Regions from separate parts of the Homo sapiens genome. Here regions 1 and 3 are each linked to region 2. The links are contacts of gene promoters, found by promoter capture Hi-C in blood cells and fetal thymus (Javierre and others, 2016). All regions are on one chromosome and are shown on one strand. The core of a region is centred on a gene start or on the middle of the fragment in contact, and the rest is flanking DNA. Distances in the headings are between cores, read along the strand shown. Region 1 overlaps LIPT1 (lipoyltransferase 1). Region 2 holds the start of TMEM131 (transmembrane protein 131). Region 3 holds the start of C2orf15 (chromosome 2 open reading frame 15).

Region 1 (2,899 bases), core at 45-2,544, 1.2 Mb after region 2:
TCAGGGCATAATATTAATAAAATAGTTAGCACATATTGTGTACTTTCTTCAGTGCCAGGCACTCTTCTAACCACTTTATATGTATTAGCTCATCAGACTCAGCCTGATAATATGAGATGAGTCCTGTCATTATCCACATATTAGATAACAAATCTGAGACATAGAAAAGTAATCTGCCTTAGGTCATTCAACTGATAAAGGATAGAGTTGGGATTTGAATGAGGGCACTCTGGTTTGAGCTTGTAATCATTATATCATAAAGGACATGATGCTTGACTTCTCTTTCTCTCACCCTAATTCAACCTATTGCCAAGTATTGTACATTCTCCATGCTTAAAATCTCTAGGCGGTGTCCCTGAAGTATAAATCCAAAGCCTTCATGCCTGTAATCCGAGTGCTTTAGGAGGCCAAGGCAGGAGGACTGCTTGAGCCCAGGAGTTTGAGACCAGCCTGGACAACAAAGTGAGATTCATCTCTACAAAAAAAAAAAAAAAAAAAAAATAGCCAGGCGTGGTGGCACATGCTGGCTAAAGGGGGAGGATTGCTTGAGCCCAGGAGGTCGGGGCTGCAGTGAGCCGTGATCACACCACTGCACTCCATCCTGGGCAATAAAGTTCAAGCATTTCACTTGGATTTAAGGTTCTTTATAATCTAACATCTACTTCTCTTGCCTTCTTATTAACTCCCCATTCTTGTATTCCTAATAACCAGCCAGTAGAATTAAATTATTTGCATGGGTCCTATCTCCTTTTCCACTAAGCTGTTGCACATTGTTAGAATTCTTTTCTTTATCCCTTTTATGTCTCAGCTTCAATGTCACATCCACTAATTAGAGCATTAGATGGCGCTCTACTGTACTTAACACCTATCACAGCATTTAGGACACTGTATTTTAATTATTGCCTTACTTGTTTTTTAGTATCTCCCACTAGATTGTGGAGGTACTTGTTTCTTGAAGGCAAGGACAGGTTCACCTTCTTTTCTTTTTTTTTCTTTTAGACGGAGTCTTGCTCTGTCGCCCAGGCTGGAGTGTAGTGGCACGATCTCGGCTCACTGCAAGCTCCGCCTCCCGGGTTCACACCACTCTTCTGCCTCAGCCTCCAGAGCTGCTGGGACTACAGGCGCCCGCCACCATGCCCGGCTAATTTTTTGTATTTTTAGTAGAGACGGGGTTTCACTGTGTTAGCCAGGATGGTCTCAATCTCCTGACCTCGTGATCCGCCTGCCTCGGCCTCCCAGAGCTGCTGGTACTACAGGCACCTGCCACCATGCCCGGCTAATTTTTTGTATTTTTAGTAGAGACGGGGTTTCACTGTGTTAGCCAGGATGGTCTCGATCTCCTGACCTCGTGATCCGCCTGCCTCGGCCTCCCAGAGTCCTGGGATTACAGGCATGAGCCACTGCGCCCGGCCAGTTCACCTTCTTAATGTCACTCATATCCATCCCCTTCTCTCTCTCTCTCTCTCCTACCGTACTTTAGGCCCTCATTATCTCTAGCATGGACAACTGCCTTAGTCCATTAACTGTTCCCCCTGTCCCTAGTCCATCCTTTATTTAATCCATACTCAACCCTGCAGAGGCAGATTCGTATAACAGCTGAGTTAACACTTCCTGCTTAACACTTCAGTGGATCTTAGCTGCCTTTTAAAAAGTCCAAATATTTTGGTTCATTACATGAATTTATCTCCTCCCATTTTCTATCTCCTTATTACCTTGTACCTAGTAGGAACTCCATAAATACTTGTTGAATGAATATGGTACTGTGTCAAAGTCAGTCAAGCAGAACCAAGAACAAAGAGGTTAACCAAAGTAATGCAGTCTCGGTTGCGAGGCTTCCTAGGACAGTATAGCCATAGGCTTAAGTGGAAGTCGAAGACTAGTAGTGTAACTCTTTCTCTTAGGAGGGAATCCCCAAACATACCTTACTATTAGATGACTCTTTGTCTTTGCATATGCCTGGAATATGCTCCTCGACCTGGCAAACTTATCAGATTTGGTGACTCAGTTCAAGTATTCCTTCCTCTATTAAACCTCTCCACACCTTTCTAGACAGAATGTAAACTGATTCAACTTTTTGTAGGTTAGTTTATAAACTACAACAAGAGTGATGAAAATATGAAGACTCTTTAATCTAGAATTGTACTTCTAAGATATTACTTAACTAAATGATTTGGGGCCAGGTGTAGTGGCCCATGCCTATAATCCCAGCACTTTGGGAGGCTGAGGCAGGAGGATCACTGAAGCCCAGGAGTTCAAGATCAACCTAGGCAACGTAGGGAGACCCCCATCTCTACAAAAAATTTAAAAATTAGCCAGGCATGGTGGCGCATACCTGTAGTCCCAGCTGCTTCAGAGGCTGAGATGTGGAGATTGCTTGAGCCCAGGAGGTCGAGGCTGCAGTGAGACAATTACAGAGTGATACCCTGTCTTAAAAATAAAAAATAAAAAAGCCTAGCTACCTAGTTATGAACTTTCTTTATTTAGAACCAAACTCTTAACCTCAAGTTATACACTTTAATAATCCATTCTATTCCCAGTTCTTCAACCTGAAGGAAAATTATATTCTAAGAAATAGAATTGGAATAGAATGATTTAAGACCATAAGTAATCAAAATACTTCATTTTCATAGCTAGTATTTTCAACCTTTTGCTGCCTAATATTTCATTAGCAATGGTAACATGAATAATGTGGAAAGCATCCAAACATAGTGAATTTATTCTTAGCCTTTGTATATAAACCTGCATACTCCCAGTTGCCTCTCTCTCTGACCTCAAGGGTTCATCCTAAGTTAATATTGATCTAAATAAAAGTTATGCTGCCAGTAAATCATATATCCCAAAGTCAAACAGGAAATTATTTTTAAAGTGTTATAAAGACATAATGAAAGCTTTCCACGGA
Region 2 (3,198 bases), core at 122-2,621:
ACTAACAAGTTTTGCGTGGTTTGTTTTTTTTTTAAACTATTCACTTAGTCAATTCTTCATGAAGGCTCTGTGACCATTCACATGTCCCTTGGCTCAAAAAGAGGTAGTGTAGATGAAATTACACTGATTTGGTCTTCAAGATTACAAAATAATTTTTGACCCTGTCCAAGTACCCGTTTTGCAGCAGTACAATACTAATGAGATTTTTAAAATAGGGGCCAGCCCTTAACTGTAAATTATAGATAAATGCTTGCAAGCTGGCAACTTCACGTTTATTTTTAAAGGCTTTCACATCAAAGATAAAGGCACCGAATCACGTATTTTAAAATAAGAAATGTAAACAGGCTTTCAACAGCTTACTAAAGAGTTAAATGGAATTGTATTTAGGTCTAATAATAAAGTTATCAATAACGCAGAGACACTAAAGGAGGAAGCTACAGGACCAAGATTTCCCCTCGAAGAAATGTCTGAACAAATTCAAAGTGAAATTTTTTAAGCTGTGTCTCGCTATTTTTACCACATTTTAAAGTAAGCTCTGTCTGCATGCAACCAACCGCAACCAAGAAAACAGAAGTGTCCTAAAATGTACCTATTCGCCGCAATAAAGCCAAAAAATATGCCCCTCCTACCTAGCGGGCCAAGTGGCAAGAACGTACGAGAAGTCAGGAAGTTTTGAAATGGCAGTGACAGGAGACGGGGGAAGGCACGGGAAGGAATCACGGAGAGCGAAGGCCACTCCGTGCGGCGGGCGCCGCGAGGTCCCGGCTCGGGACGGTACCCGACCGCCCAACTTTGCGCCGGAGCCCCGGCCGCGGCCCTTCCTCCCGGCCCAGCCCTCCCGGCCTCCGCGAGAGCGGGGTGACAGCCCCGCCGCAGGGACGCCGCCGGGGGACACCCACCTTCCTTCTCGGCCCGCGCCGCAGCCACTACGAGGGTCATCACCAGGTGCAGCGCGCCTAGGAGGCCGGCGGCCGCGCTCCGCGGGCCCCCGCTACGGGCGGCCGCAGGTTCCAGCCCGGCCCCGGCGGACGTGGAGACGGCGGCGGTGGTGGCTCCGGTTGCTCCTCCTCCCGCCCGCTTCCCCATCCCTGCCGGCCGGGGGCCGCCGCGCTCGAGGTCCGGCGCGGCCCTTCTCGGCGAGGCGGCGGCGGCGCGGAAGCCGTGGTCCGGGCTCTGGCCGCGGCGCCGGGAGCGACAACGGTTGCGAGCCCGGGGCTCGATCTCCGAGCGTGGGCCTGGGTCCGTGCGTGCGTGTGAGCGAGAGTGTCAGTCACGGTCTTTGCCTGGGCATCGCCTACAAGCAGTCGGAGCGGAGAGGCCGCGGGTCAGGCGCGGCGGGCGGCCATACTGGAAACGGGCACGGCCCGCGAGCCCTGAGCGCTGGCCTGCGAGGGGCGGGGCGCGGCTCTGGGCACCGCCCACGCTGTGCCGACACCTGGGCTGTCCGGCGGTCAGTCTGTCCGCCCCGGAGCCCCCTGGGCCCCACCTCCTCGTCCCGCTCTCGGAGGCCTGCGGCTTCACGGCCAGACAGAACCAGGACAGAACAACCCCAGCCCGTTACCGCTACCTGGCGCAGGAGAAGGAGGGAGGCAGGCCCAGGTCCAGCTGCCAGGACTTATGATGGCGGCTTCTGCTTCGCGGAGGCGGTGTCGGCAATCACGTGGAGACGGGGCGGCCTCGCCGCGCAGCCGCCGCGTTGCGTGGGCGGGGCAGGGGCGGAGTTGCGGGGCGCTAACCTCTTCTCCGGCGCCTGGGCAATCCTCCGTGCTCTGTCCTACAGTGGTAGAGCCTTCCAGGGGTGTGAGTGCGCATACAGACCGCGAGACGAGCGCGGAAGGTCCGTTCCAGTGACTCTTCCTGGTGGCACCCCCACCTCTCGACCGCTTTGACGTCGAGAATACCCCGGGCCTGACTCAGTTCTTGATGGTGCTTCCTTGAGGATGGTGGCCCGCTGAACTCATCCTTGGGTCTTCCAAATCATGGTACCCAGGAGGAGCTTGATGGAGTCCTCTTGCCTTGGCTTGTGCCCACATTGGCGCGGAACACCTCGTGTGCAGAAAGCGTCGGTGACTCTGGATGGAGAAGGCAGGGGCAAACAGACTGCTCTTTAGAATATCCAGTAGCCGGCTTCCTCTCTCGAGGAAGAATTCTTTTTTTTCTTTTCTTTATTTTTTAATTATTTATTTATTTTTGAGACAGGGTCTGGTTCTGCCGCCCAGGCTGGAGTGCAGTGGTGCGGTCTGGGACTACAGGCACCCGCCACCACGCCACGCCAATTTTTCTTTTTCTTTTAAGAAACGCTGTCTCACTATGTTGGCCGAGCAGGTCTCGAACTCCTGGGCTCAAGCAGTCCGCCTTCCTCGGCCTTCCAGAGTGCTGGGATCACAGGCGTGAGCCACTGTGCTGGGCCCGGAAAAATTCTTAAGACGTCTGTTACCTTCACGAGCCATCTCGCGCCTCTTAGATGCCCTTTTCATCTTAGGTTGAGCTTCTTGGTGCGCATGGCTGTTGTCTCCAAGACTTAATTTAAGCTCTTGGAGGGGGTCCTTCTTTACTCATCTTAGTAACTTCCTCCCAGCTTGTAGCCCAGAGACATTTTACTTTCCTTAGCTGTATTTGTTGAGTGAGTCGATATATGTGTAAGGCCAAGTCTGCCCACAGTACGTCTCAGAACAAGCTAGATAGGAAAATAAGGTTTCAGAAAGACAAAAGGAACTCCAGAATCTACTCTATGAAGTAGTCCCCTGTGTCAAGCAAGCACTTAAATTTATTCATAAATTAATATATATTTAAATATGACCTTAGCCTAATGATTTTAAAAAGCAATTTTAGGGCAGGGCGCAGTGGCTCACGCCTGTAATCCCAGCACTTTGGTAGGCCAAGGTGGGCGGATCACCTGAGGTCAGGAGTTCGAGACCAGCCTGGCCAACATGGTGAAAACCCGTCTCTACTAAAAAATATAAAAATTAGCCGGGCGTGGTAGTGCATGCCTGTAATCCCAGCTACTCCGGAGGCAGGAAAAACGCTTGAACCCGGCAGGTGGAGGTTGCAGTGAGCCAAGATAGCGCCACTGCACTATACCCTCGACAAGAGCAAAACTCCGTCTCAAAAAATTAATCATAAGCAATTTTACTTTTTTGAATATTAGCCTTAAAATTGAGTAGTCAAATTTTATTTTGATGTAATGAAATAGGAATA
Region 3 (2,943 bases), core at 226-2,725, 1.1 Mb after region 2:
CAAGAATCTGTCTTATCCTGGAAGCAGATTCGAATGCGACATCCTACTTCTATAACTAACCTGTTTTTTTCTACTTACAAACCTATTGTTATTCTACTTATGTCCTTACACGTAAACAAAGTATACTTGAAATGCTGAACACCAGTACAGAAAATTTTAAACAAGGAAATCTCCTAGGATATAAGGTCCTGGAATGGAAGAAGGAAAACGTTGGGACACTATAATCTATGCAAACTTTCCCGAAGCTGCGAAAAAAAAAAAGTGAAAAAAAACCATATTTCTGTGAGTTTTTAGGTATCAAGTCCATGATCACCTAGTTATCCAATTTAAGTCTCAAATAGTTTTTCAACAAAAGCCAGCTTTCCCTGCCTTTACTGTGTATAATTTTTACTAAAATTATCTGAGATTTTCATGCAAATGCCTATGTAATCTCAGCCTTTCACCACCCCAAGTCTAGAAAGAGGCTCAGAAATGAGCGATCGGGAGTCAGGCTGAACTCCCAAATCTGTGACTTCCAAATTCCTCGGCTCCACCAGAGCTTCCAGAGCGTTTCTAAACTGAACAGTCTCCCCAACAACCAAGCGGAGAGCTGCGGGAGGACGCGAAGCAGTGACCATAGGAACTGGGCTCAAACCTAACCTCCCAAGAAACAGGGGCAACTCGTGCTGCCGAGCTTCCGGCCGGCAGCTGTGCCCGCCGCTGCCCCTCACAGCCGCTCCCGCTGCTAGCGCCCAACTCCGCCCGCCACGGCCCCGCACCCGCCACTCCTGCCCGCTTGCAGCCGCCTTCTCAGAGACCTTCCAGTCCAGTAGCAGCACTCTCCCCACCCCGCGCACCTCCGCAGCTTCTACCTGGAGCTCCGGGTCCCTCCCCGGGCTCCTCGGCCCGCCGTCCTGCCCAGAGCTCATCCCCGCGACTGTCAGCTCTCGGCCTCAGCGGGGGATACAAGAACCGCCCACTCTCCATCCTCCGCCCCTTTCTCCTCCCTTCCCACCCCCAAATCGTCCTGGCCCCGCCCCGGCGGATCGGAGGAAGGACGGAGCCCGCGGGAAGGAGGAGGGGGCGGTTAGCGCCAGCCAGTGCCGCCGTGGCCCCGCCCTCACGCTCTGTACCGGAGTGGGGCTCGTCTTCCACCTCCCCGGCGCCCCAGCTTTGCTTCCGTCCCGCTCGCCCCCAGGCCCGGTGCGCACGCGTACCTGGCTCGACCTTCCTTCTCGCGGGGTCTACAAGCCGTGCGCGCGCTCCTACGCACGGAGCGACGCGTACGTCTACCTGCCTGCCTTACAGGGCACCTAGGAGGGACCCCTTCCTGGCCCATCCGCGCCGCGCAGGCGCACGCCCACGCAGCGCCTAGACGCCCGAGCCGAGCGTCCCGTCTCCTAGTAACCAGCCGCTAGCCCCCTTTTCCACGACTCATTTCTTAATCTCTGCCTGAGGCTGCCGCACCTGGATGGAACGCGCATGCGCAAGGCTGTCTCTCGCAGCCCCGCCTTCCCTCAGCTTGAAACACCTGCTGCTTCGCGGCGGTGGCTTTGTGCCACTTTTCCCAGGGCTTGGGCATCATTCTGGACCCATGTTCGGTGAACCGGTTACTCTCAGAGCTGCTTTCGGGCGCAGCTCCTGCTGCAGCCAGGGCCCGTTTTAAGAGAGGCTTCCAGGTCCAGCCCTCCCGCTGCAGCCTGCAGGGAGCGAGCCGGCCTGTCCCGGTGAGCGTGGGCAGCCTGGAGTCAGGGGAGCCTGGGGACCACGGCCTTGGTCAGCTCTGCACGATCAGGGCTGAATCAGGAAGTGGCAGATCTAGCAACAAAGTCCAGATTCCTGACCGATATTCCTTCTCCACATGCCAGTCCTTTTCCAAATCCCCTCACCTTAAAGTGACAAATGAGCTTTTTAGTGAAAAAGAATGAGCGCTGCATTCTTCTACCAATTTTTTGGAGCCCAGAATGGGGGGGAAAAAAGTCTTCTTAATTTTTCTTAATACCTACCATGTCCCTTCTTAAATAACTCAAGAGCTTCTGGATGATAATGGTGACTTTATCTCCTTTTCCTGCAGATGACATAGACACTAGGTTTTTACAGCAATTCTCTGATGACCTTGATATGGTAGAACGCTGTGTATTTCAAGAGTAAGCTCTCGTTTGAGGAGACTAACAATTCCTGTTTTCGCCAGGTGAGTACTCATTTTTCCCCCCACAAGATATCATTGGCAGGGATAAACAACTTTTGTGTAGAACAAATTTAGTCATAAAAATACATTTAATATAAATGCCATGTTTTTCCAATGTCTTTTCATCGTGTTATTACATGGTCTCATATTTTGTCGCATTTATTTTCAGATATCATATACTTTGTAAGTATAATTAGATACCAAAAAAAATTAAGTGTCCCTGTTATTTTAGATTAAGAGGTTAGAGGACACAAGGAGCACATATCCTCGGAAATGTAATTTTTTAAATGCACAAAATAACAAACTGAGAAGTTATGTTAGAGGGAATAATGTATAATCTCATTTCCTCTTCAGATACTAAGATTATTTTGAATACATTATCTAGCATTATTAAAAACAAATAGGAAAGAATGTTCTAAGTTTAAAACTATCAGCTGGAGTTGAAGACTTCGGGGGTGGGGAGATTATTAATATAGGAAGTAGGAAAGTACTTCCCTTATAGAAAGAATAAGAAAAGTTTAAGCACTTATGTATGCCACCTAGACGGTACTGAAGATTATTTGGAAAGAATATAAGGAAATGATCATTTTAAGGCCAAAAGAGGGTGAAAAGATTTTCCTTTTTTTTCCTATCAAGAACTGTTGACTTTCTCCCCTAACCTGAGAAAGTAAAAATTTCCTTCCCTCTGTGGAAACCCAAGGGGTAGTGAGTGTCCCACCCTGCCCCAACTAAACCTTTTTTTTTTTTTTTTTTTTTTTTTTGAGACAGAGTCTCAC

What was found. The method cuts DNA at HindIII sites, captures the fragments that hold promoters and counts their contacts. A CHiCAGO score of 5 or more calls a contact.
Region 1: a contact is called between a fragment that was not itself captured here and the fragment with the promoter of TMEM131 in region 2, in 1 of 17 cell types (total CD8 T cells). The highest score is 6.3, in total CD8 T cells.
Region 3: the fragment with the promoter of C2orf15 here is called in contact with the fragment with the promoter of TMEM131 in region 2 in 1 of 17 cell types (non-activated CD4 T cells); the score reaches 6.3 in non-activated CD4 T cells.

The regions. Positions count from the first base shown.
Region 1 is chr2:99,157,951-99,160,849 of GRCh38, forward strand. All of the region lies in intron 1 of LIPT1 (lipoyltransferase 1), which reads left to right. Among named protein-coding and RNA genes, the nearest start is that of LIPT1, 4.4 kb to the left of the region's middle. The HindIII fragment of the contact is 3,184 bases long and covers 1-2,886 here.
Region 2 is chr2:97,994,577-97,997,774 of GRCh38, forward strand. It overlaps TMEM131 (transmembrane protein 131), which reads right to left and starts at 1,372. Exons shown (of 41, transcript NM_015348.2): 1 at 900-1,372. The coding sequence starts at 1,086. It overlaps LOC124905591 (a long non-coding RNA gene), which reads left to right and starts at 3,067. Exons shown (of 2, transcript XR_007087148.1): 1 at 3,067-3,198. RefSeq lists silencers at 662-1,221, 1,332-1,581 and enhancers at 1,118-1,631, 1,802-2,081. The HindIII fragment of the contact is 7,821 bases long and covers 1-3,198 here.
Region 3 is chr2:99,140,232-99,143,174 of GRCh38, forward strand. C2orf15 (chromosome 2 open reading frame 15) reads left to right here and starts at 1,476. Exons shown (of 4, transcript NM_144706.4): 1 at 1,476-1,706; 2 at 2,054-2,170. The region is part of intron 1 of TSGA10 (testis specific 10); the gene reads right to left. RefSeq lists silencers at 736-805, 876-1,185 and an enhancer at 1,407-2,213. The HindIII fragment of the contact is 4,390 bases long and covers 1-2,943 here.